Regions from separate parts of the Homo sapiens genome. Here all the other regions are linked to region 1. Evidence: promoter capture Hi-C in 16 types of primary human blood cells and fetal thymus (Javierre and others, 2016). All regions are on one chromosome and are shown on one strand. The core of a region is centred on a gene start or on the middle of the fragment in contact, and the rest is flanking DNA. Distances in the headings are between cores, read along the strand shown. Region 1 holds the start of UCHL1 (ubiquitin C-terminal hydrolase L1). Region 2 has its middle 17 kb from the start of LIMCH1-AS1. Region 3 holds the start of LIMCH1-AS1 (LIMCH1 antisense RNA 1). Region 4 overlaps LIMCH1 (LIM and calponin homology domains 1). Region 5 overlaps LIMCH1 (LIM and calponin homology domains 1). Region 6 overlaps LIMCH1 (LIM and calponin homology domains 1). Region 7 overlaps APBB2 (amyloid beta precursor protein binding family B member 2).

Region 1 (3,390 bases), core at 585-3,084:
ACTAGGAGGAAGGCTTGGAACTTCCCATACTCTTGATTTTGGCTACAGATGCTTCCAGAACACCTAGCCTTAGGACGGTGCTTCAGTTAACCTCACTCTTTAGAGTGATGCCCCAAGTTTTGCTAAAGCTAATTTCAGTCACTCCCACATCAGCGGTCAAGTGACAGCAATAGGAGATAAGACAATGCCATGCGCTAATGACTGGGATTCCATACATCACAAGACTGCAAATATCCTAGCTATCCTTTAAAAAAAAAAATCTGACGCTGTCTTTCAGATACATCTATCCATGCACACTTGTAGGAGGAAAATCATTTCAAGGGAAATGCAAAGGTGCTTTCAAAACTGAGCTAATAACCCCCTATTTCAGTTAGCTACAAGGTCAGAGATGAACAAGGATAAGTGAAGAGGAAGGAGGTTCCCACACAGAAACCATACACAAAATGATTAAGCTTTAAGAAATACATTCAAGAGGCTAAAAACCAAGTGTGCAAGTGGTGGGAGTGGAGAAGAGAGAAGAACCCCTTAAGACCATCAGAAACCCAAGTAATGGAGGCGGAGAATTAGCGAACCTAATTGTTTCCCTGCGATTTAGGTCAGCCCTTCCCCCTCCATTCTACAGCTAGGTGGGAGTCTGAGAAGCAAACAATGAGTTGACAGGTTATAGCCCTTAAAGGGAAACCAGCAGCCATTCCCCGGAACCGGAGGCTCGAAAAAGCCCAAGTTCGAGGGAACTCATGAGTAGGATGAATGATTTCCCTGGATAACGGGATAGATGGAACTGAGATACTGCCTCTCTTCCAAATTTAAGGCAATTGTGGACGGATGGGCAAGAAGGCGACAGGCACCGCTGGAACAGGAGCCCAGGGAGTAGGTACCACGAAAATGCAGGCTCCTCCCTTCCTTGTAGGCGCGCCCCGCATCACCTACAGGGGAGGGGGCGGGGCGGGGAGCCCCCGAGGACTCAAGCTGGGGAGCGGCGTGCACTGCCGGCGGCCGGCGCATCCTGGGCCCCACGCCCTACCTGGGCCGTGAGGGGAAACAGCAGCAGCAGCGCGCAGGCAGGCGCTGGCACCGAGCCCAGAGACTCCTCTTCCAGCCCCAGCACGTCCACGAAGCGCCACTGGCCGGCGACCCCCAGCCGGGACAGCACCTGCGGAGAGGAGACAAGGCGGCCAGGCGCACGGGGACACGCGGGTCGCGGGCACCTGCCAGGGGGCGGGGCCAGGAGGCGCGCGCCCTCCGCGCCCGCACCCGAGCCTGGGAGGAGCCCCAGTCCCGCCCTGCCACCCCCACCCGGGCCGGCGCAATGACACAGCACAAAGCGCGGCCCACACGTGGCGCCCGCGAAGCCCGTGCAGCCGAGTCTGTGCTGCCCGCGCCACGCCCTCGGGAGCTCCGCCTGGCGCTCGCTCGCCACGGGGCGCAGCCCCCTCCGTCTCCCCGTGACCGGTTTCGTAGAGTCACCCGCTAAATGCAGGGGCCCAGGAAAGGCGCCCAGCCCACGCCCCAGCCCGGCCGTCTCCGGTGCTCGCAGCGGGCGGCTTGGTCCCTGCCAGCAGCCGGAACCGGTGGGCGCCCCCGCCTCGGCGCTCGCGGGGGAGGGGGCCAGAGACGGCGCGAGACGCCACTCACTTTGTTCAGCATCTGAAAGGCAAATGCAAAGAAAAAGGCAAAACCGAACCGATCAGCGACTCGGCTCCCCCTCCCTCGGCCTCGCGCTCTCCGGGTAGCGGTGCACCTGGCGCTCACCTCGGGGTTGATCTCCATCGGCTTGAGCTGCATCTTCGCGGAGCGCCCGGCAGAAATAGCCTAGGGAAGACGAAAAACAGCTAGCGGAGCCGCCCAGGCTGCAGCTATAAAGCGCCGGCCAGACGCACTGTGAGGCCTGTGCAGGGGGAGCAGGGGCAGAACCAAGCGAGGGGGAAACGGACGGTCGCGGCCAGATGGGTACGAACCCCCCGTGCGCAGCGCGGAGTGGTACGGCCGGGCCCCCAAACCTTGCAGTCTCACTCGCCGGTGAGATAATCTGGTGGTTGTGGAGACGGGATTTGTTGGTGGGTGTTCCTTGAGTGTATGGAGCAGTCCTTTTGATGGAGTCTTTAATTTTGGGCGAAGTTTCTGGAAACCCATCCTTTCACCATCCCAATTACTCTAAAGCTCGAGTCTCTGAAGCATTTGAGAAAAAGCACAAATTCAACAGGTATATATTTAATACGAATGAATGTAAATGTGTGCCCCCCGCCCCAAATCTCTCAGCAGTTTGCGTTTAACCTTAGACAATTCCTCCTCCATGTTAAGTCAGACCAGTACCGAGGTTCGTTTTTAAGTGACTACCTAGAATAAAACAGAATCTGGTAGATAACAGATACTGCATTAGGAATGCTGATGTAATGTGACTCCCGCGGAAGAAATGGTTGGTCCTGGGAGAGCAGTAGAAAGCTGGGGGATGTGAGGGTAATACAAGACACAAAGAAGGCAGGCGATTGGAGACTTGAGAAAACAGATCCAGGGAAAAGATGGGTATGATTTTGAGCGAGAGGCTGTAAAAGGAAAAGCATTTTTAAAAGAATGGGAAGCTTTGAAAAATAAAATGTCTGAGTTCACCGCAGAATACTCCCAATGAAGAAGAAAGGGAATGGCAACCAAGGAAACCACTGTTCTCTAATGATCTCAGGTGATCTCTAATGATCTCTAGTCAAAAGATGGAGAGAGAAAGCATTTGCTGAAGAATGAATTTTAAAAGGGACCAAAATCTATAAGAATTGTGCCAGGAAAGCTAAGCTGCAGAACAAAGTGGGCTTGCAGAAATACTTAGGTAGCGAAGGAAGCAAGAAGGTTGAGTATTTTTTAAAAATAGGCACCGAAGAGAATAATGATGATGGTAAAAGAATAGACCTTCTATTTAGGAAGTTGAGGTTAACAGATGACAGAGGGAAGGGAGGGAATCAACATTTTTTGAGTTATTGTTTTTGGGGATCCTTTGCATGTGTCTCTCATTTAATCCTTAGAGGAGCCGTGAAGAGACTCATATTAGTGCAATTTTACAGATCAGAATCCCAGGCCTAGAGAAGTTAATTTGCTTACGGTCACAATTGAAAAGTAAAACTGAGAAGTAAACCCTGCTAAACTGGGCTCCAAGAGCCCATTCTTTATCTAAGATTCCACAACATTCTACTTCTATTTTCTTTCCATTTTTGCCATTAGAAAATGACCTTCACACACAAAAATGAGAGAGAAAAAAATTAGTAAGAGGAGCTTAATGGGTGAATCTTATGGTATGTAAATTTTCCCTCAATAAGGTTGTTAAAGAAAAAAAGAGGTGAAGGTCAAGACAAGTGACTAGGTTATATTGAATGAGTTCTTGCCTTTAGACAAAGACAAATTACA
Region 2 (3,390 bases), core at 561-3,060, 450 kb before region 1:
TGTATAGTATTCCATGGTGTATATGCACCACATTTTCTTTATCCAGAATACTCTTTTGATACACAAAACAAGATAATCCTTGAGACTAGAGTAGACTCTTGAGTCTAGAGAACCAGGGAGATCAGAATTCACGAGAGTTCCTTCACCACCTTTCTGAAATGTATTCTATTGTTTACTTCGTCTATTAGGGTAGACTGTCTGATGGCACTTTTTCAGTACTAACCCACTGGTAGTTGCCCGTTCTCTCAAATTCAGATTAAGGTGGATATGTGTTTTATAAAATGAGCTGAGGCCCACCAGCCCCATGGAAATATTTGCCCATGGTGCAGTGCCTGAGATTTTTGCATATGAGGTTTGACACTTTCCCTCCTGAGTGCTGAGGGAAGGTGAGAGAAAGAAAGTTAAATATGGAAACTACTTTTCTTCAATATTCTGTCTCTTGACTGCAATACAAGTCTTATTTGGGGGTATTATTATTCCATCACTGAAACCTAAGTGCTTGCACCATATTCTTGACAGTGTTCCTGATGAAAGCACTACTTTCCACTGGAAATTTCTTAGGAGAATTAGATCTTGAATAAAGAGGTCTAGTGAGTTTCAGCCATGTTTACTCTCAGCCATAGCTCCCTGGCCCTTAACTCACCTGATCCTCCACTTCCTGCTGTCATAGTTCCAGATGCAAGTCCCAACTGATTTTATTATTATTCTTAAATTTTTATCTTTGGAGACAGAGTCGTGCTCTGTTGCCCAGGCTAGAGTGTGATTTCGGCTCACTGCAACCTCTGCCTTCCGGGTTCACGCGATTCTCCTGCTTCAGCCTCCTGAATAGCTGGGGCTACAGGTGTGTGCCACCATGCCTGGCTAATTTTTTTATACTTTAGTAGAGATGGGGTCTTGCCATGTTGCCTAGGCTGGTCTTGAACTCCTGAGCTCAGCCAATCCGCCCACCTTGGCCTCCCAAAGTGCTAGAATTACAGGTGTGAGCCACTGTGCCCAGCTCCAACTGATTTTGTTACCATTCTTGTGACTGGCCATCAAGAATTTTAAAAAGGTCTAACAATTAAACAAAAACCAAAACAAAACAAAATAAAACATGTCTGCATGTTGGTAAGGTATTTGTGTGATTTCCCAAAGGTATTAATTGTCCAGTCAATGTTTCTCAGAGTGTGTACTGTGAAACCTAAGTGCTAGAAGATGTTGAGAAGAGTCTGGAATAGAGCTTCTTAATGAAATATAGTTAGACAAAGATGTTAGTTTAACAAATTTAAACAGGCTCCTGCAGAATTGTGTAGGCCTTTGCTATGCTTTCTATATCTCCAAGAAAAAGGACATGCAGTGCTTTTTACTCAGGTGTAAACATGGAATCCGTTTCTTGAAGAGCATTTCATACAACGCCCCTGAGGAACACACTTTGGAAAATGTTCATCCCTGTCCAACTACCATGTTTGCGTGAGTTTATGATCTGCCTGCCGTTCATCAGCCTTTGTTATCAGGTATCCCAGGATTCTATTCTGTGACCAAAAAAAAAAAAACTAAAAAAAAAAGGAAAAGCTTTGCCCTTTTCTTTTCAAGGAGTAATAGGATGGAATAAATACCCAAAAGCAAATTTTTCCAAGAATGTTAGGTCTAATTCAAAATCAAAAGCCTCTGATTCATCTTCATTGTTGTATTTCTGAGGGCAGAGGACATTTGCCATTAACCTCTAACTGGATCTTAAAGTCCCTTCTGCTATGTAAATACATTGAGGCCATAACAAACTTGGGAGTGGTAACACTGTGGTTTTAGACAACTGACGTCAGATTTTACTGAAGCACTTTTATGACTCACTCTTAAGATGAGGACAAATGCTACACACGTAAACTGCAAATGGAGATGAGGGTCTGGTATCAACTAGAAGTTCATGTTAAGACCTGTCTCTCCCCCATGGGAACAGAACTCTAATTATATATATTGAAAGGCAGCAGCTGAAAAGCTCACAGTCCACTCACAGAGCAGCAACATGGCCGTACAATAGCCAGGCTCTCCCAGGACTAAATACTCAAATAAATGTTCTCTTTATTCAAGCTTGGGCTACCATTTCATTGCAGAGTTTTGTTAATTCAACAAATTCTATGAAACTGTCTTATCTGGTATGGATGTAGAAGAAGGCTTTCCTTCCCTCTTTTGTAACGTTCTTATTTTTCCATATTATAAAAGCCATGTAGATGGTCAGTGTGGAGAAAACACTCAGAAGTGTTCAGATAAAAATTTTTAAAAATCTATAATTACACTAATCAGAAATAACTGCTGTCAGTATCTTGGCATATCTAATTCAATATTTTCTTTTCAGATTGGTACATATTTATTTTGCAGAGGTTCTGAGAATATTTGTAAATTCTTTGTGGCCCTAATGCTATAGGCTAGAATTTATTTCAGGGGCAGATTCCCTCTTTTCAGAAGAGTTACTCTGATAAGCATATCCAGTAATATTGATACAAGTTAAACAAGAGGTTTTTTTTCATACTGTAGCCCTGAATATTGGTAATGTAATTCCACAACCTCAACTTTTACTATATTGTTACTAGTCCTAATGCATGGTCATCCTAATAGAAACGGCTGTTTACCATATACACTAAAATATGTCCTATTTAAAATGCATGATCCTGTTTAATCCTCACAATAACACTATATGGTATGTTTTACTATTATCCCCATTTTGCAGATGAGGAAACCAAGACACAGAGAAGATAAACAACTTGCCTGAAGTCACAAATGGTAAGTGGTGGAGCTGGGATGTGAACCTGGACATCCCAACTCCAGAGTCTGTGCTCCTTCTTTAGACAGAGATGTTAATTGAGGTGTTTAGTAAGGTAAAGGCTGTCTTTGCTGTGGGCTGGCTGTAAAAATCATAGTTATATTTGCTGGCATTATTTGGATTCCTTTAGCATGTTTAAATACAAGGGTGCTCTCCTAGGGGTAGGGGTGGAGGAACGAGGGGAGGAGAGAGAGAATAAAAGGAAACTATAGTTGGGAAAAGTGTGCCTCTCAACGTGGCAGCGGGCCAGAGGCCAGGAGCTAAGGAGGAAGGATGGACATGACTCCCTGTGAACACACATGGCCAGTGGATTTTAAGAGCAATGATACATTAATTCCAATTTGATGTTTTCCTTTCTTGCCTTGTAATCTGGCTATGCTATCCTCAAGCCATATTTAAACTTATTAAACCATGAGAGGCCCCTGTTAGCTGGTCTCTGAAGAATAAAACAGTGGTGGGTTGTTTCCATGTTTGGGGCTTCGCTGGACTGAAAAGAGGGGGAATTGCATATGGAAGGAATGACGAAACAGGCAAAAGTGACTGAAGAAGAAGCCTGGGGCAGCTACTGAGCAAGAACTGTGGGAAACAAAAACCAG
Region 3 (3,390 bases), core at 252-2,751, 440 kb before region 1:
TCTTTCTGAACAATTCAATTTTTCTAACATTATAGCATCTGTAACTTTTATTTATTCATTGAATGTCTATAGAAGCAGAGAAAACAATGGGCCTTGTTTTCTATGGTAAATCCTGGTAAAACACTGCATTTCACATATAAAATAAAGAAAAAATCATTTTTGTGGCCTACCTCCAAATCACTTTCTTATTTTTCAGCTGATTACAGGAACTCCATGGTTTTGAAATTAAAAGCAGTTAATGCCCTTTATATTTGTATATTTAAGAGAAAAATTCCTGGTCTTGAATTAAAAAGCTAATTTCCAAAAGAAATGACAAAGAATCACCCAACCTCTCAATTTAAAAAAATCTAGATGAAAAGAGGTCACTGTCACCCAGAGGGGGGTTCAGGTTGTTCTGTTGGCATCCTTCAAGCACTTTAAATTATTAAACAAACTCAGATCTACAGCACTTTTCAAATCTTTCTGAGCAGTCCTTCAACCTAACAGTGCCCTCTTCTGGTTCCATAAATTACATTCACTGTGGTTCACTGAGGTAGAGAAAAAGAATAATTTATAGAAGACGATAGGAAAATTCGCATTGAAATCTGGGAGAAAAGAGTTGTTTTCCTTGTTAGCATATAAAAGCAAAAGTCCAGTTTAAATAAAATGTATATAATTATTACCTATTATACATGTACTATATATGTTAATTTGTGTGTATATATTTATGATATATGGTATACTATTTATATAATTTAATATATAAAATACATAGTATAAAAACTAATATCATGCATGATCTAAATAGTCCAGTTTGATAGCAGCGGCTCTAAGTTGGAACTGTTTTGATCTCAAGTCAAATATTTATTATAAATCTAAACTACCTGGGTTTGATTAAATTTTTATTTCCCATTTTATTAATAGGCATATTTAACTGAATTTACTAAATCTATAGCTATAAAACAAATTACCTTCAATTTTTATTCTCAAAGTTTTCAGTCTTGCAGAGATTTGAGATCCATGTAAAAAGGCAGTAAAAACGTGACTTCACTTTGAGAAATAGTCATTCTTGAATTTCACACTCCCTATCTTCACTCCAATTTTTTAAAAGAGTTTCTGACTGATGAATCTGCACTAAAAGGTCTTCTGCTGTCTAGGTGACCCACCAGAAGGACTGTACTCATGATGGAGAATGAGGAAACATTCCGAGGCAAGCCACTGGCCATTTTCAGATTTTCTAAACAGCGGCTAGGCAACAGCACCCCCTGCTGCCCCGCAAACTAACATGCACCTTCCACAGTAGGAGGCCCGGATGCAAGACGGGAAAGCAAGCAGGCTTCTCACTTACTAAGGCAGCAAATAATTTGTTAAGCGCATATTGTTACTAAGATATTGTAGAGGTGGGAGGTGGGGAAGAATCCACAGAGAAGTGGAACCCTCATTGTTGTCTCTCAAGGAACTTTCCATTCAGTTGGGAACACATATGACGTAATGAAACTCCTGAATGTAGGGCGTGGAGACATTGATGAGTTGGTGCTCGATCTGAGAAACAGTGGAGAGCCGCTCTCCACATTTAACCATCCCCAAATGGTGCCAGTCGTCTAAAGACATGCCTGAACAAGTGACAGTGTTTGACAGACCTTATATCTCCTTTCTATCACACCAAAATCTCTGTAGTGAGCTCAGGCAATGTTTTGACCTGCTGGTGTGCTGATGCACTTCAGGATAAAAAGAATTGGTCCACATTGTAGCAATAACTTCCAGGAAGAAACGAGTGGTAAATATCTTTTCTTTTTTAACCTAGATGTTAAGAAACCTTTCTCTCAGATTAGAGTGTCAACGGCTGGGGAAAAATATTTGAATTCCTAAATTGGGTCCTATGGAAGACATACGATTACACTCGGTCATCATGAGGCATTCTCCCCAGTACTTACTTCTGGATCGCATGTAGCAATCATTACAGTTCAGGAGACCATTTCGAATCCTAACATCCGTCCCACTCACTGCATCTCCAAGCTGGCCTTTACAAATTCCACACTATAGGGTAAAAAGAACAGACATCATAAGATGCATAAGGAATTGTTTCTTTCTAATGCTTAGTTACTGTTTATGTGAATAGCACAATAATCCCTTCTACAATCACCACATTTGTGGAGCATCTATTATGTGTAAGATGCTGCACCAGTGTCAACTTACAGCAAAAGCAAATATACAGTTAGCAATTTTAGCTTAATTCCTTGCATTTTACAGAGAAGGACACTGGTTCAGTGAGGTTTGTTGGCTTGTTCCTAGGTTGTGGAGCTGATAAGTGGTAGCAGGTTGACTCCAAAGCCTAGCGTCTTAACCTCTATCATACACCGTTTCTCAATCAAAATGGAAGAACCATTTTAAACACATTAAACCCTAGTGGCTTTAAATAAACACATGGCCAATGAGTTATCAATTGAAATGTGTCCATCAATAATCTTTAAAGGCTTGCCAGCATCGTTGCTAAGTTCTACCAGATCAAAATTTCTAGGAAGTACCTGTTCCATTTGTTTATTTTATTTATTTTTTAAGACAGTGTCTCGCTCTGTAGGCCAGGCTGGAGTGCAATGGCATGATCTCAGCTCACTGCAACCTCCACTTCCTGGGCTCAAGCAATTCTCCTGCCTCAGCCTCCTGAGTAGATGGGATTACAGGCGTGTGCCACCACGCCTGGCTATTTTTTTTTTTTTTTTTTTTTTGTATTTTTAGTAAAGATGGAGTTTCACCATGTTGGCCAGGCTGGTCTCGAACTTCTGACCTCAGGTTATCTGCCCACCTTGGCCTCCCAAAGTGCTGGGATTACAGGCATGAGCCACCGTGCCCAGCCTGCTGTTCCATTTTATATTTCCACATTAAAAGCAGTGATATTCAGAGCAACAAATCCACTGGGAATTTCCACCAACACAGGCTGAGTGCAGAAAGAGACTGTAGGATATACTTGGATGTTTGTACCAGAAGGGTAGAAAGGCAGTGGAAGTTGGTGTGGGTGCCAGCCTCTTGCAGGGGGACCAGGATCTAGCCCCTAATTCATGCTCTAAGGTGACCTGGGACAGAGTGAGGCTTAATCCAAATTATGTCATAAGCTGCCTCTACATTGCAAGAGTGGGGAATAAATCCAAGAGGGGATGTACCTTAAAGCATCAGGCCAGCTCCAGGAAGTGAATGATTAGAGTGAATAAAGGCCTTGAGAGTTAAGAAGGCAAGTCTCCTGACCCTTGAGAATCTGCAAAGAGCCCTTACCACCTTGCTTATTTCTAGTCCTCATAAAGTTTCTGAGAACAGAATGCAGTGTTCTCAGAATGCATATTATCTTGGCATAACTACAAATCTTAAAAAGCATATTCCTTGAGCCTCAAAACATCCCTAGACCATTTAGGACATACA
Region 4 (3,390 bases), core at 598-3,097, 410 kb before region 1:
TGATAAAACGAAACCTGCAAAGGTGGGAAATTCTGCCTGCCTCCCAACGTTTGACTCCCAGTTTAGTTCCCCTTTCCAGACCTGCAGACCATTAATTATCTATAAAAATGAAGAATAGCTAGGGTCTGAAATATTGAAAACGCATCAAGGCAACAGGCATTTTAGAGGCTCTACCAAGGATACAGAATTCTCAGCTCCTAAGGCCAGGGAGTGCATCATGTTCACTGTTGACTATCCAGTACCTAGCACAGGGCCAGGCATGACATAGTAGGTGCACAGCCAATACTGGTTGAGTAAATGATGAATAAACTGGAACTACAAGTGGCAGATTTTTCACTTTAAGGTCATACCCAAATTGAGGGTCCATTCTGAAAGGTGGTACACCACTACGGATAGTCTTCCAGTTGTGCAAGTCCGTAGTGGTGGCCCATTAAAATTACCTGGGAGCTTTAAAAAATACAGATGCCTGGGCTCTGCCTCCACAGATTCTAATTTATTTGGTCTGGAATGGGCTTGGATTGTTTTGTTTGTTTGTTTTTGAGATGGGGTCTAGCTGTGTCGCCCAGGTTAGAGTGCAGTGGTATAATCACAGCTCACAGCAGCCTTGACCTCTTGGGCTAAGTGATCCTCCCACCTAAGCCTCCACAGTATCTGGAATTACAGGCACTCACCACCATGCCTGGCTAACTATTATTATTATTACTATTTTTTTTTTTTTTTTTTTTTAGAGATGAAGACTTTCTGGGTTGCCCAGGCTAGTCTTGAACTCCTGGGCTCAAGTGATCCTCCTGCCCTGGCCTCCCAAAGTGCTGGGATTACAGTTGTGAGCCACCACACCCAGCTAGCTTGTTATTTTTTAAATTCCCAAGAGTAATCAAGGTTGCGAACAACTGGTGTAACTGATGAATATTTTTAGACTCTGTACCTGAAAACAAATCAAACTAATGTGAATGAGATGAGACTCTAAACAAGGAAGAAACTTTAATAAAAACAAGACTTTAAAACCTATTATATCAGAATAATAATTTTCTAGGTTTCTTGTTATCCAAATCCAGTGGCATCAGAATTACCATGGCTAACAAATAGATGATTATTGGAGAGAGACTAGCCAGTAAGCTGACAGGTTAAAAAGCAAATAAGCAAACACACACAGCAAACTAAAACCTAACTGCAAGGCTTTAGAACTTATATTACACTTTTCCACAAAGAATAGCCTGGCCAACATGGTGAAACCCCGTCTCTACTAAAAATATAAAAATTAGCTGGGCGTGGTGGCAGACGCCTATAATCCCAGCTACTCGGGAGCCTAAGGCAGGAGAATCACTTGAACCCAGGAGGTAGAAGTTGTGGTGAGCAGAGATCACACCGCTGCACTCCAGCCTGGGCAACAAGAGCAAAACTCCATCACACACACACACACACACACACACACACACACACACACGAAAAAGAAAAACTACAGATTAAAGATAGGAAAAAAGATGAGGAGAGAAATAAATCTTCATTATTCACAACTGCCACAGCAGCAGCTAGCTGTAATATGGGGCCATGTTAACTTGTGGGTTTAACCGCTTTCCTCCACTCTGCACTTCACCTTTTGTGACAGCACCAACTCCACCTTTCCACTCATTTCATTTTCTGGTTTCTTCTGGTCTTTTTCTTCCGACACATCATTCTTCAGCTGGGGGCTGGAGGGAAATTCCACAAAGGCCACGGTCGGGCTGCATCGAGTCACAGTTGTTGTAAAATGCTGTGGTTCTGCAATGGAGTTACATCCAGAAACGTACAGAAGGAAAAGAAAATCAAATATCTATAGGACCATTTATTCTGCAATGCCATGAAGTACATTCAGTCCATATCCCGTCCTGGCAATATAAGCTGAATGACAGTGTGCTCAGAGATATAAAAGAGCCTAAGATGCTGGAATTCCCAAAGCTCTTTCATGGTATTGAACAACAAGCAACACAAATCACGTCCTATAACCACACTATGAAGAACTTAAGTTTTTAGTAAGGGTCACGGTTTACATCTGAATAACACCACATGGAACAGAATGCTGACACGAAATATATAATTATGACAGCTGGGCTAGATAAGAGAACATCTACAGGTAGTTTCTATCCCAGTGAATGAGCAGCAACCTGATGCTTCCTTTTTTTGTATTTCAATGCTCCATTTTAACATCAGAATTTCTTAATTGGAATGTGTTACGGATTGTGGGGTATATGTATATAATGCAATGAAAATAAAGTGTTCTCTGATACATAAAGAAGAATTAGGTTCACTTTAGAAGGGGTGGAAAAGTCACTACCTAAGGGGGCATATCAAAATGTGAAGGCACAATCTAGTTTGAAAAAGTAAATGCTATTATTTTAAGTGATATTTAATTTATTTAAAAATGTTACCTAAAAATAATTTGGTAATTGACAAATTATGTTTCTCAAGTGGTAAACACTGGAGAAAGGCCTTATAAAAAATAATAATTTGGTATTGAAAGAGGGTGAGAGGTTTTACTGTTTATCAAAAGAAGAAAAGTGTTAAACATATTGATAAGGCTGCAAAAAAATATTGAGGAACAAGACTTTCGGGAACAGGGTCTTCTTCCTAAAACAACGAATACAGTATATTATACTCACTGTCCAGATTCATGGCACTATTTTATTCATTTTTAACTATATGTGAGCTTTACCATTTCAGCGTCTATTTTTATGTTTTTGACCTCTCGCTTATCTATTGCTGTTACTGTGTGTCAAAATCCTACCCTCAATTTTTAGCATGATTTATATGGAAGAACACAATATTCTTTATGATTATAGGGATAAATATTTTAAAAAACAAAATAAAACTGGGTAGCTTTAAGAAAGAGCATGGGCTCCTATTTTCACAGCAACATTAACCATACGGGCAGAACTTCCCCAGGAAGCCTCTAGGTGGCAGCACAACCGCACCACTCCTGGAGTCTAATTACTACTTTCCTGTGGCTCAGTAGGAAAAATTCTTGACTATTTCCATTACATCTTAAACAGTTACCATGATTTGCCTTAAAACTAGTCTCTTATGAAACAAACCTGATGAGGCAAGTTCTATATTCCCTTTTCTTGATTTTCCACCATCATTCTTGTCCTCTTGACTATTCGGTTCCGTTTTCTCAGTGGTTGCCTGAAAAAGAGATTTTTTTCCCCCTTGAATAAATGATTCCTTTAAAAGTTCTAAAAATTATTTTTTAAGCAGTAATTTTTAGGTCAACAAAGTGGTTTGGCCATATGAATTCCCTCTTCTACTTCCCAGGCAGCTTCATGGCGAGAGCCTGGATTGGTTGGAAGGAGACATTCTATGGAGAACAGGACACCCATGCGGTTCACCATCTCACCAAACCTCCTATGACTGCCT
Region 5 (3,390 bases), core at 642-3,141, 390 kb before region 1:
TTCACAGCTGTAAATGTCAACACATTTTTCTTTTGTATGGTAAAAAGAATGACATTTTCTTGAGTCATGATGCTTCTTTCCATCCACTCCCTGGAGTTCAGCTTTGGTTCTACTCTTAAGGAACTTGTCCTACCTTAAAGGTCTTCAGAACATCTTGAGAATTTTTGGGCTGGGAGTAAGGCTTGGGTGTCAGCATAGGCACTGCTTTGGGAGTGACAGTTTTGCTTGGAGACCCACTGCCTGCTGACATGCTGGTATCCAGAACACTGGCACGAGCAATGGTGGTTTCAACAGTGGCAGTGAATTTGGGTGGAGGCAGTGACTGTTGCCGCAGGTATTTCATGGGATTGGGGTCATTCAGGAAGGAGGATAAATTTGGCTCTGTTGAATGGCTTCTTTCCAGAATTTTTGGCATCTCCAAGCGTTCGAGAACAGCCTCACTGATGGTGAACCTCTCAATGTACTGTTGAAGGATCCCCTCTGCCTCCTCCTGGGACCGAGCGTTCTTATATGCTTCATGCAGCTCTCTCTCTCTCCGCTCTCTAAAGGACATGGGAGAAGCAATAACAAAGTCAACTAATGAAAATTGCAAAGAAGACCTTGGTAGAAACGAAGGTAGCACTGAAGAGATAGTACAGGGAATATAAAATGTTACTATCAGAACCTTTGTGACAGCCAATAATTTTTAGAAAAAAAAAACACCTAGATAATATTGTACATTAAAAACGACAACAGAAAGAACTCACTTTTCTTGAACAATTTCTCTGTAGGTTTTGATGCTTTTCCTTCGTTCACTTGTCCCATCTTCTCCAGCCAGTAACTTCTCCATTTTTTTCCTTTCTTCCTCTTTCTTGATTAAGTCCTGAGAAACACTTCTTCTACGACTCTTCCAACGAGCCAGGTCCTGGCAGGGAAAGAAAGATATAATATTCTTCTTCAGACTTGTGCATAATTCCATTTCTATTCTTCAGAGTTTAGTCATTTCTACTCTTTAGAGAACTGACTATGGGCCCAGGCACTATAACATCGTGTGCATTCCCACACAATCCAATGTAAGTCTGGTTGGAACTGGAATGCCTCAAAGGCAGAAACATCCAGATATTATCTACAGTATCCATAGCAGGGCTGCACATTTATTTAAATATGGCAGTGTGAAATATGCAATCACATTTCATGTCAGTTGCCAAATTTCAGAGAATTGCCTCACAAGGTAACTGTAAGAAACTTCATTCCTTCCTATTTATAACCTCTGCATTGTGAACAGATTTGCTGACAATAGAATAGTAGGGATTCATTTACAGTTTCCACATGGAAGGCAGTCAAGGCAGAAAAAAAACTGTTTTGGAGTCTTTAGATCTGGTGATTCTATATGTATTAATTCATCTGATCCTTACAACAACCTCACCACAATCCTACAGGTAGTTATAGCATAATGATGAAGAGTGAGGATTCTGGAGGCAGATGGTTGGGGTTGCAGCTGTGGGAAATAATCCCAGCTCTGTCTTTTCCATGCTTTGGAATCTCAGGCATGTTTCTTAGTCTCCCTGTGCCTCCATTTCCTCCTCTCTAAAATGATGATAATAGCACCTATTCTTACAAGCTTGCAGGGTTAAATGTGAAAATAGACGTAAGGTGCCAGGCACATAGTAAGTGCTCAAGATACTTTAGACATAATTGTTACTATATTTTATGAACTTTGGAGAAGTTAACTTTTTAAACTAAAGGTGGAGTCAAGTTTGCAATAGCTACCTCCAGAGTGCTTTGTGAGAATTAAATGAAATAATCCACTCTCCCTCCTCTCTCCCCGCTTTGGCTCTCAGCACACAATCTCAAAGCCCTCATCAGCCTCTTTAGCCTTCCTTCCCTGGTTCTAATCCTGGCTCCCCCACTCGCTAGCTATGTGACGTTCAGCAAGTGACAGCTGTGCTGGGATTCGTCTGTGGAATCGAGGACAATAAGAGTTGCTAGTTCATTGAGTTACTAAGAGGATTAAATGAATGCATGCAAAGTACTTAGAACAATGCCTGGTACTGGTACACATTTGATGTTGGTCATTGTTATCGTTACTACCATCATCATCATGATCAATTTGAAATATATAACCTCAGAAGATAGTGCAGCCTCAATTCTACAACCCATCCCAGTTTCCTGCCTCCCCTCCCCTCTTTTGTGACCAAGCTTCTGGCCAGGGTGTTTGCTGATTACATGTCTGGGCCATCACTCCATACCTTCACGCTGCTACTCACCTTCCTTTGAGTCCCACATTTACCGTGTCACCTTTTGAAACCCTCTAGGGGCTCCCTTTCCCCGCATGGCTTTCAAGTCCACGTCTACCCACCCGGCTGGATTTTCTGCTGCCAGAAGCCTCCCCGCTGCCCGCGCGCCTTGGCCACAACTCACATCTTGCCATTTGTCGTCCTCTTCCCTCAGCTGGTTATTTATCAGCTGCAGCTGCTCCTGGCGGGCCCTGCTGTGCGGCTGCACCGCGGCCTCCTCCTCACACCGCATGTCAAACATGCTGGTGCTCCTGAGTGTGGAGAGAGCGAACACAAGAGGGACCGCGATCAGCGCCCGTCGCGTCTCCGCGCGCCTGGGCGTCCTGCCGCGTGGGGGCGCTACCGGGCTTGGAAAACTGCCCCCTTCCCGGGCTGCGCACAGCGCGTGACTGGCGGTGTGTTCTGGCCCTGGGCGGGCGGTGGGCGTGCTGGCACCCCACCGCCTCCTTTTGCCGCAAACGCCAAAATGTGACCGTCTTTGTCTTCAGTGATGTCACTGAATCGGGTCAATATCATTTTATATGTAGGTGCCAAAATAGGTTTAAAGAAGAGCTAGAAAAATGGTATTTGAAGCCCCAGGCTCCTCTCACTTGGAAATGCATTTAAAAAATAAAATTAAGATAATTAAAAGGTATAACCTGGGTAGAATTTGTGGGGAAAGAGGGCGGTGTTCCATGAAGTAAAACTGTATTACGTTAAATGCTTCTTTGTGTAGAAAGCTGGCTTAAAGGCTTCCTATGTGAATGGAGGCAATTTCTCCATTTCCAAAAAAATATCATTTGGCCTTAAGTTTAAGACACTCACTTTTTCTTATTTTATTTTATTGAATTTTAGATGCATCTGACAACTATGGATGGCTGATGTATATGTTCATTGTAATCATTTCTTTTTATTTCTTGTAAAACTGCTGTAATTGATAGTGCAGTTGATGGCATCTTGGAATCAAGAAAACAAGGCATTTTATAACAAGAGTAAGGAGTAAAACACATAAATTAGGTATATATTTTGTATTCTAATATGCACACAGTCATTTAATTTTTGTCAGGATAACTCTGAATATCTCTTTTAAAAGAAAAATGCAAGGGAAATCAGTCTTTAAAAAACTCTTAGACTG
Region 6 (3,390 bases), core at 525-3,024, 370 kb before region 1:
GTGGCTCATGCCTGTAATCCCAGCACTTTGGGAGGCTGATATGGAAGGATCACTTGAGCCCCAGGAGCCCTAGGTGTTCGAGATCAGCCTGAGCAACATAGCAAGACCCCATCTCTATTTAAAAAAATTAATTAATTAATTAAAATTTTGGCCAGGTGCAGTGGCTCACATCTGTAATCCCAAGACTTTGGGAAGCTGAGGTGGGAGGATCCCTTGAGCCCAGGAGTTCAAGACCAGCATGGGCAGCATAGTGAGACCTTGTCTCTAGAAAAAATCAAAAGATTAACCAGGCATAGTGGCATGGGCCTGTAGTCCCAGCTATTCAAGAGGCTGAGGGAGAGGACTGCTTGAGCCCAGGAGTCGAGGGTACAGTGAACTGTGATCAAGCCACTATATTCCAGCCTGGGCAACAGAGCAAGACCCTGACAAAAAAAAAAAAGACACAAAGATAAGCATTTGATGCCTTCAAAATGAAATACCATGACTGCCAGGGGGAAACTGGGGGGGAAACATGACACACCTCGCCTTTTCTGACACTTTGAGTCTCTCCCACGTCTCCAAGTCAGCTTCTGTTATGTTGGAGAGCGTAATGAAGCTCGGGGGCTCGCGGTGAGGGGCAAGGCTGCCCTGAATTCTCTGCTGGGCCAGGTCATCCTTGTGAAGATCTGGCACCTTCCTGAGTCCTCCTTCCACAGGTTCACTTTCCTGAGCCCTCATGTTACAGGTCACTATCAACTTCACCTCTTCTGTGTGGCCCTGGTTTCTGTCCATTTGATCCGGGCCCCCACACCAATGGAAAAATCAAGTTCAAGGAAGGGGAGCAGACAAAGAGAATGTCAAGCATGGAAACTCACAGGCTGAGGACAGAACAAAATGATGGAAACACTTTTCTCTTTCTCAAAAATGGAATCAACGGGAGCTGTGATGACTTTCATCTATACCACCCTTATTACAACTCTGAATGAGACAGAGGTTTTTTTCCCCTTCCAGATGACAGTCTCAACTACAGTTTAGGAAAAGAAGCCGTGCCTGCTGAAAGATTACTAATGGTAATGAGATTTTGGTTGGATGGTAATGATGCCCAATTCCCACACTATTCAAGTTACTGTAATGAATTCGGGTTTTCTGATGAATCCCTTAGCCCTCTTGGAATGTTTTTTACTGCATTAGTAAAATGTTCATAATGAGCTCTGCATGATCCAAATTCTAGGATTAGTTTGGAGATAGCTGGAACATTGTTCACATATTAAACATCTCAAACCTAAACCCACAGCTGCCAGAAAGTACATCTAAGTCAATTCTGAACAGAAAGTTTCAATGTTTAAACTCAACGTCTGCTTCATGGCATTAGTCAGGTTTGGCTAATGCAAACTTGAAAAGCAGAGGGTATTCCTCTTTACCTGGATTGACAGGGTCAATACCCACTTGTTTCTTGTGTTAATAACCGTTCACCTTTATTGATGCTAAAACTGATATTTTCCATTGTTCTCCTATGAAGTGAACCTTAGCTGGCTAATGTTGACAAAACTGCGATTTAAACCAAAGCTGTGGCATTTATATATATAAATATTCCATTAAAAGTCTATTTCTAACTAAATATGCTTCTTGAAATAGAAAAATCTCAAAAAATATATAAATAGAGCCTATTAATCTTCCCACAAAATATATCATTCAAGCTGGAAAATCAAGAGGTAGTCTTTTGTTACCTTGATGATTTGGCATGCTTGCACAGCCCATAAAAATAGAAAGGCTATAGAATTTTCTTAGTTTGAGGAAGGAGATCAAGGAAGGGCATGGCAAAGAGGCACTAGGGACCCTTCTTTTTTTTTTTTTTTTTAATAAGTTCTTTGATGCTGTCTAGAGAGGTCAAGGGCTGCTTCAGACCCAGAACTGCGTCCGCAAACACAGAGTCAGGTGACAACAGACAAATATAGCTGGAAATATCAGGAATTAAAATTACATGGAGGAGAAAGGAAACAAGGGAGATACAAAGGCTAGTCCTTTTCCTGACTCAAATTGCTGATTGCCATCAATATGCCTTGATGTTAGTCAGTTATCCAAAAGTCTTTGTTTCACTTGCACAACTGATCCCTCCCACAAGGCCCTCCAAGAATGGTTTGTTACAAGGCCTGCCAACAGCAATGGCAAAGACCAAGGGCCTCCTGAAGCTATAATGTGTCCTGTAAAGAAATGATGCCAGATTTTCTCTTATCGAATCCCTGTTCTATATCCAGGAATCCCTCATGGGTTTTTGTATCTGGTACTTCCTAAGAAAAATCAAAAAGACCAACTACTCCCCTGAGCTCAACAACTCTGCCTAAAGAACCATTTTAATTGTCTAAAGCACAGCTGAGATAATTATATACTAAGTTCAACAGGCTTAAAAACCTCTAAAGTGATGGGCAAAAAGATGACAATTCAATAATGTAGATGCTAACTCTAGCTGATTTTGATATAAGGAAAAATACAAGAATGATTAACTCTGCAGGATGAAATTCAGCAAGTAGGTTCCCTAAATGAAATCATATCTCCCTCTCAGGACAAAAATCACTGGTCAAATTCCATCTTACTATAATTTTCCTGTCCCCAATTCACTCCAACATGTATTAAGAGGACGGGGAAAATGTTGGCAAAAGGAAACTGGCTTGAAAACAATTTCTATGACAGAACATATAGAAGTATAAGTTTGAGAAGTGTTTTTGATGGGAAATATCCATTATCATTTGTCTAGGTGATGTTGCTGGTGTGACAGAAGAAAGAACAAGTCTCATTTTTTTTTCTTCCAACATCTAAATGTAGCTAATAAGAGAGAAGTGCTTTTAGCGTTTTTCTGCTTCCTTTGAATGGACTAGAGCAGCTGTGAGAGGTGGCTGTTCTCTGATAGGCAATAGTACATGTCTATTTTTGCTAATAATGCCAACTGATGACACCAGCACCCATATGTGGTGATGAGCCCTGATTCAGCACATCTACACACTGGAATTCAATGTTTCTTTGGCAAATTCAGCCCTATTTTGGACATGGACACTCTACTGTCTGCCATCTGCATTTAAGGGAGATTGAATATCTAAAGTTCCGCTTCAAAATAAACCCCCATTACAAAGTACATATAATTGAGAGGCTGGAAAGAGGAACTGGAGGGGGTACAATACAAACTGACTTCACTTAATTATGTCCTCTCTCCCTGTGTCTCTTTCATAGACACACACACACACACACACACACACACACACACCATGCACACCTTTTATATTCTAGACTTCTTTTTTTTGAGATTCCCTTTGAGAGCTGTTTGCTGCCATCTGATTTCTCTGCCCCTTTCTTTGGATAAGGGCCATAGAGGAGTTGATTTAATGGCACCATTGGCTTGGTTTGGTTCATCCTTGCTCT
Region 7 (3,390 bases), core at 460-2,959, 330 kb after region 1:
TTGCAGGTGATACCAATACTGCCAGTCTACAAACAACACAGAGTAATAACATTATACAGTTGGAAACATGATAAAAAGAAGGCACCAATTTTGTGCAGCTTCTGCAGCGAAGTAGACATAGTCTTTCTATGCAGTATCTTCTAGTTCTTTTATGGCCATTTGCAACCAGTTCGCAGCTGCTCAGGAACTTTTTTTATTGGCACTGGATTTTGTGAAAGCTTTGTGTGCCTCCTTACTCTTTTGTTATAACTTACCTCAGATGGAGAGGAAGAGGAAGGAGATGAAACAAACCATCGGGTAGTAGGTTTGACGGAGCTTTCTGAACTGAATGGCGAATGGACATGAGATTCCAATATTCATCTGTGAGCTTTATTTATCTGTGCCCTCCCTTGGTTCCTATTAGCATAGATTTTCATGAAGTAATTATATTAGCAGCTACTGACTAGATTAGCACTAATAGATAAGCAGGAAGTAGTAGGGAAGTACCTTTTCTCATTCAGATTTATTTCTGGTCTGTGTAGCAAATTCATTGTCATTACTTAGCATTTATATGGGATGTTACAGCTGCATGTAGTTCTTATAATTGATTTTTATTCACGTGGTACAGGTTTCTTTCAGAAATCCTGATCTGTGTGGAAGTTTGGGTTTGATTTGCACTGTTGATTCATTCATTGAGTCAGAGACGTTTATTGAATGCTAAGTGCGAAAGGAGCATACATACTTAATGTATGGTGTGGTTAAGAGCATGGACTCTGGACCCAGACTGCCCGGGTTTAAAGCCAGGCTCTGCTGCTTACCAGCTGGATGACCTTGGGCAAGTTACCTACCCCCTCTGTGCCTCAGTTTCTTCATCTGCAAAATGAGGGTAATGATGGAGCCAACCTCACATGGCTGTTATAAACATTGAATTGACATACTATAAACACTATAAATATACATGTAAAGGTCTTGGAACAGTCCTTAGCACATAATAAGCATTCTTTATGCATTCGCCATTATACTGTTCCTACTACCAGAAGGAATGGATATGGCCCCTGCCTTCAAGTAATGGAGAAGAAACAAGCAAATTCAATGCACTGTACCAGGAGCTGAGCTACTGAGTCACGAATGGGGGTTGTTCCGGGGGCATATTCCATGGCTGGTTGAAAGGGGTGGCTCGGGTGGTTTCCCAGAAGGAGACGATACCTTAGCTAATAAGTATATTTGAATTGTCACTGGAGTTAGTGATTCCCTCTCCCCCCGCCACCATACTTTTCAAAAAATGTAAGTGTGGAAGCTTTGAAAATGATTTGATATGTAAATTTGTGTTCATTTTCAGCAAATGCTTTTAGGAACAGATCTGTTAAGATGAGGTCCATCTGTATTTGCCCAATACTGTGGATAACATTGTTTCTGTTATCTGTTCCTGCGTGCTATGTAGCAAACTGCACCAAAACTTCGTAGCTTAAAACAATTATTTATTTTGCTCAGGATTTAGTGGGTTCCAGAGTCTGGGGAGGGTTTGGCGGTGCAGTTCCTGCCTGATCCACATGGGGGCGGCCGGAGCTGGAGGATCCTCTTCAAAGATGGCTTCTTCTCCAACCTGCTTCCTGGCTCAGTGCTCCTCCTCACGTCCTCCAGGGCCTCTCCATGTGGCTTGGTCTTCTCATGGTGTGGTCTCTGGGTAGGCAGTTGTACTTTTTACCTGGTGTCCAGCTTCTAAGAAGCAGGAAGGTGAAGCCACCAGGTGAGGAAAGGCTCTTCTTGGCAATGGCAGCATGTCACTTCCACCGTATTCTGTTGTTCAGAGTTGTCAGACTCCACTTCTTGATGAGACGTGGCAAGTTCACGTTACAAGGAGCGCATAGGACGGGAGGTTTTAATGCAGCCATCTTTGGGAGGTACAATCTGCCAAACATGTCATTCCCACATTTCAGTCATTCAAAATTAGTGCCTTCAGTACAGGGCAGAAAATAGCAACATGGTTGAATCACGAAACCAAGGTCCAGAGCCAGTGATGGATATATCAAGTCCTGGCTGAATGAGATTCAGCCTCTCATGCATGGCTTTTAGGTTGGCATTCACAAGGGGAAAATAAGGATCATCTCATTCCAGCCTTAGGAAAAGCAGAAGGCGCAGAGAAAGTAACCTGCCCAAGCTTGCACAGCTGGTCGTGGCAGAGCAGGACCCGAAGCCAGGCTCCCTGACCCTTGTCCATCCTGCTTTTCCGTTGAGTGGTGCAGACACTCACTGCCATTGGCCTTGGCTGCTCATTTTGCCTCCTATCCCGGAGGACAGCTTTTGTGTTTCTAAAACTGTTTTCCTCCCTTTATTTGCCAACTCGGCCAAGCATAATGCCGTGTTCCTGGCAGAAGCACGGTGTTATTTCCCTTATTAACTTCTGGTCACTACACTTGCCTGAATGAGCGGTCGAGGAATTGGCAGCCGTGTGTGAGTCCCCGAGTTTTGAAGGGTGCTGTTGAAACAAGATGCATTGTTGTCTAACTCTTGGCAGCTGCGCCCTCTGATGGGCAGATGCCTGGAAAAGCTAATGAAGGAAAGGCAGACTTCCCTCTTCCCCTGAAGGAATGAGGTAGGAAACAGGTGAGGAAATGGGCACCAGCCAGCCGCGGTGGCAGCAGCCGCCATCCTGATGGCACCAGAGCGGCAGGTGTGTGAACCTGGCCTGGTGGGTTCTTGGCACAGAATTTTGGGCCATGAATAATCACAGAACTGAACAGCCTCGGGCAGGAGTAGCCATGGGACATCCATTCAGCAGGTCTGGGTGCTCCAGGAAGGCCAGCTGGTCGAGACCTGGGGGTCCTGAAGCTGGCATTCCAAGGCCATCTGGAAAAGAGCCAGCACGTCTCAGAACTTGTTCTCTCAGGCTTGCTGCCTGAGAGCTTAATGCCAGATACTGGTATTTAGATAGTGATGAAAACATTTCTGCTTTATTTGCAGTTTAAAAATTGATGGAGAGGCTGGGCACGACCGTGGCTCACGCCTGTAATCCCAGCACTTTGGGAGGCCGAGGCGGGCGGATCACAAGGTCAGGAGATCGAGACCATCTTGGCTAACACGGTGAAACCCCGTCTCTACTAAAAATACAAAAAATTAGCCGGGCGCGGTGGCGGGCGCCTGTAGTCCCAGCTACTCGGGAGGCTGAGGCAGGAGAATGGCGTGAACCTGGGAGGGCGGAGCTTGCAGTGAGCCAAGATTGTGCCACTGCAATCCGGCCTGGGCTAAAGAGCGGGACTCCGTCTCAAAAAAAAAAAAAGAAAAAAATTGATGGAGAACTGATGGTTTTTCCTACAGAACAATTAGATTAATTCAGATGCTGGCTGGGTGCAGTGGCTCATGCCTGTAATCCCAGCACTTTGGGAGGCCGAGCGGGGTGGATCCTTTGAGCTC

What was found. Contacts are between HindIII fragments. The CHiCAGO score rates a contact against its expected background, and 5 or more counts as called.
Region 2: a fragment that was not itself captured here is called in contact with the fragment with the promoter of UCHL1 in region 1 in 1 of 17 cell types (monocytes); the score reaches 5.7 in monocytes.
Region 3: the fragment with the promoter of LIMCH1-AS1 here is called in contact with the fragment with the promoter of UCHL1 in region 1 in 7 of 17 cell types (monocytes, megakaryocytes, endothelial precursors and 4 more); the score reaches 10.5 in monocytes.
Region 4: a fragment that was not itself captured here is called in contact with the fragment with the promoter of UCHL1 in region 1 in 8 of 17 cell types (M2 macrophages, monocytes, megakaryocytes and 5 more); the score reaches 12.3 in M2 macrophages.
Region 5: a fragment that was not itself captured here is called in contact with the fragment with the promoter of UCHL1 in region 1 in 7 of 17 cell types (megakaryocytes, M0 macrophages, M2 macrophages and 4 more); the score reaches 12.4 in megakaryocytes.
Region 6: a contact is called between a fragment that was not itself captured here and the fragment with the promoter of UCHL1 in region 1, in 3 of 17 cell types (monocytes, M0 macrophages and megakaryocytes). The highest score is 6.4, in monocytes.
Region 7: a fragment that was not itself captured here is called in contact with the fragment with the promoter of UCHL1 in region 1 in 2 of 17 cell types (M0 macrophages and endothelial precursors); the score reaches 7.8 in M0 macrophages.

Annotation. Positions count from the first base shown.
Region 1 is chr4:41,255,372-41,258,761 of GRCh38, reverse strand. It overlaps UCHL1 (ubiquitin C-terminal hydrolase L1), which reads right to left and starts at 1,834. Exons shown (of 9, transcript NM_004181.5): 1 at 1,753-1,834; 2 at 1,636-1,647; 3 at 1,025-1,153. The coding sequence starts at 1,785. UCHL1-DT (UCHL1 divergent transcript) reads left to right here and starts at 2,035. Exons shown (of 3, transcript NR_102709.1): 1 at 2,035-2,203. RefSeq lists an enhancer at 624-1,124 and a silencer at 959-1,718. The HindIII fragment of the contact is 2,127 bases long and covers 455-2,581 here.
Region 2 is chr4:41,708,488-41,711,877 of GRCh38, reverse strand. No RefSeq gene overlaps it. Among named protein-coding and RNA genes, the nearest start is that of LIMCH1-AS1, 17 kb to the right of the region's middle. The HindIII fragment of the contact is 513 bases long and covers 1,554-2,066 here.
Region 3 is chr4:41,690,908-41,694,297 of GRCh38, reverse strand. LIMCH1-AS1 (LIMCH1 antisense RNA 1) reads left to right here and starts at 1,501. Exons shown (of 3, transcript XR_002959789.2): 1 at 1,501-1,756. LIMCH1 (LIM and calponin homology domains 1) reads right to left here. Exons shown (of 32, transcript NM_001330672.2): 31 at 1,914-2,016. The HindIII fragment of the contact is 18,346 bases long and covers 1-3,390 here.
Region 4 is chr4:41,661,189-41,664,578 of GRCh38, reverse strand. LIMCH1 (LIM and calponin homology domains 1) reads right to left here. Exons shown (of 32, transcript NM_001330672.2): 19 at 3,069-3,159; 20 at 1,595-1,758. Among named protein-coding and RNA genes, the nearest start is that of LIMCH1-AS1, 30 kb to the left of the region's middle. The HindIII fragment of the contact is 9,051 bases long and covers 1-3,390 here.
Region 5 is chr4:41,643,637-41,647,026 of GRCh38, reverse strand. LIMCH1 (LIM and calponin homology domains 1) reads right to left here. Exons shown (of 32, transcript NM_001330672.2): 15 at 2,401-2,527; 16 at 747-904; 17 at 134-542. Among named protein-coding and RNA genes, the nearest start is that of LIMCH1-AS1, 47 kb to the left of the region's middle. The HindIII fragment of the contact is 578 bases long and covers 1,603-2,180 here.
Region 6 is chr4:41,626,865-41,630,254 of GRCh38, reverse strand. It overlaps LIMCH1 (LIM and calponin homology domains 1), which reads right to left. Exons shown (of 32, transcript NM_001330672.2): 8 at 3,245-3,390; 9 at 521-763. Among named protein-coding and RNA genes, the nearest start is that of LIMCH1-AS1, 64 kb to the left of the region's middle. The HindIII fragment of the contact is 4,189 bases long and covers 1-3,390 here.
Region 7 is chr4:40,922,846-40,926,235 of GRCh38, reverse strand. All of the region lies in intron 10 of APBB2 (amyloid beta precursor protein binding family B member 2), which reads left to right. Among named protein-coding and RNA genes, the nearest start is that of NSUN7, 170 kb to the right of the region's middle. RefSeq lists a silencer at 2,110-2,404. The HindIII fragment of the contact is 861 bases long and covers 1,279-2,139 here.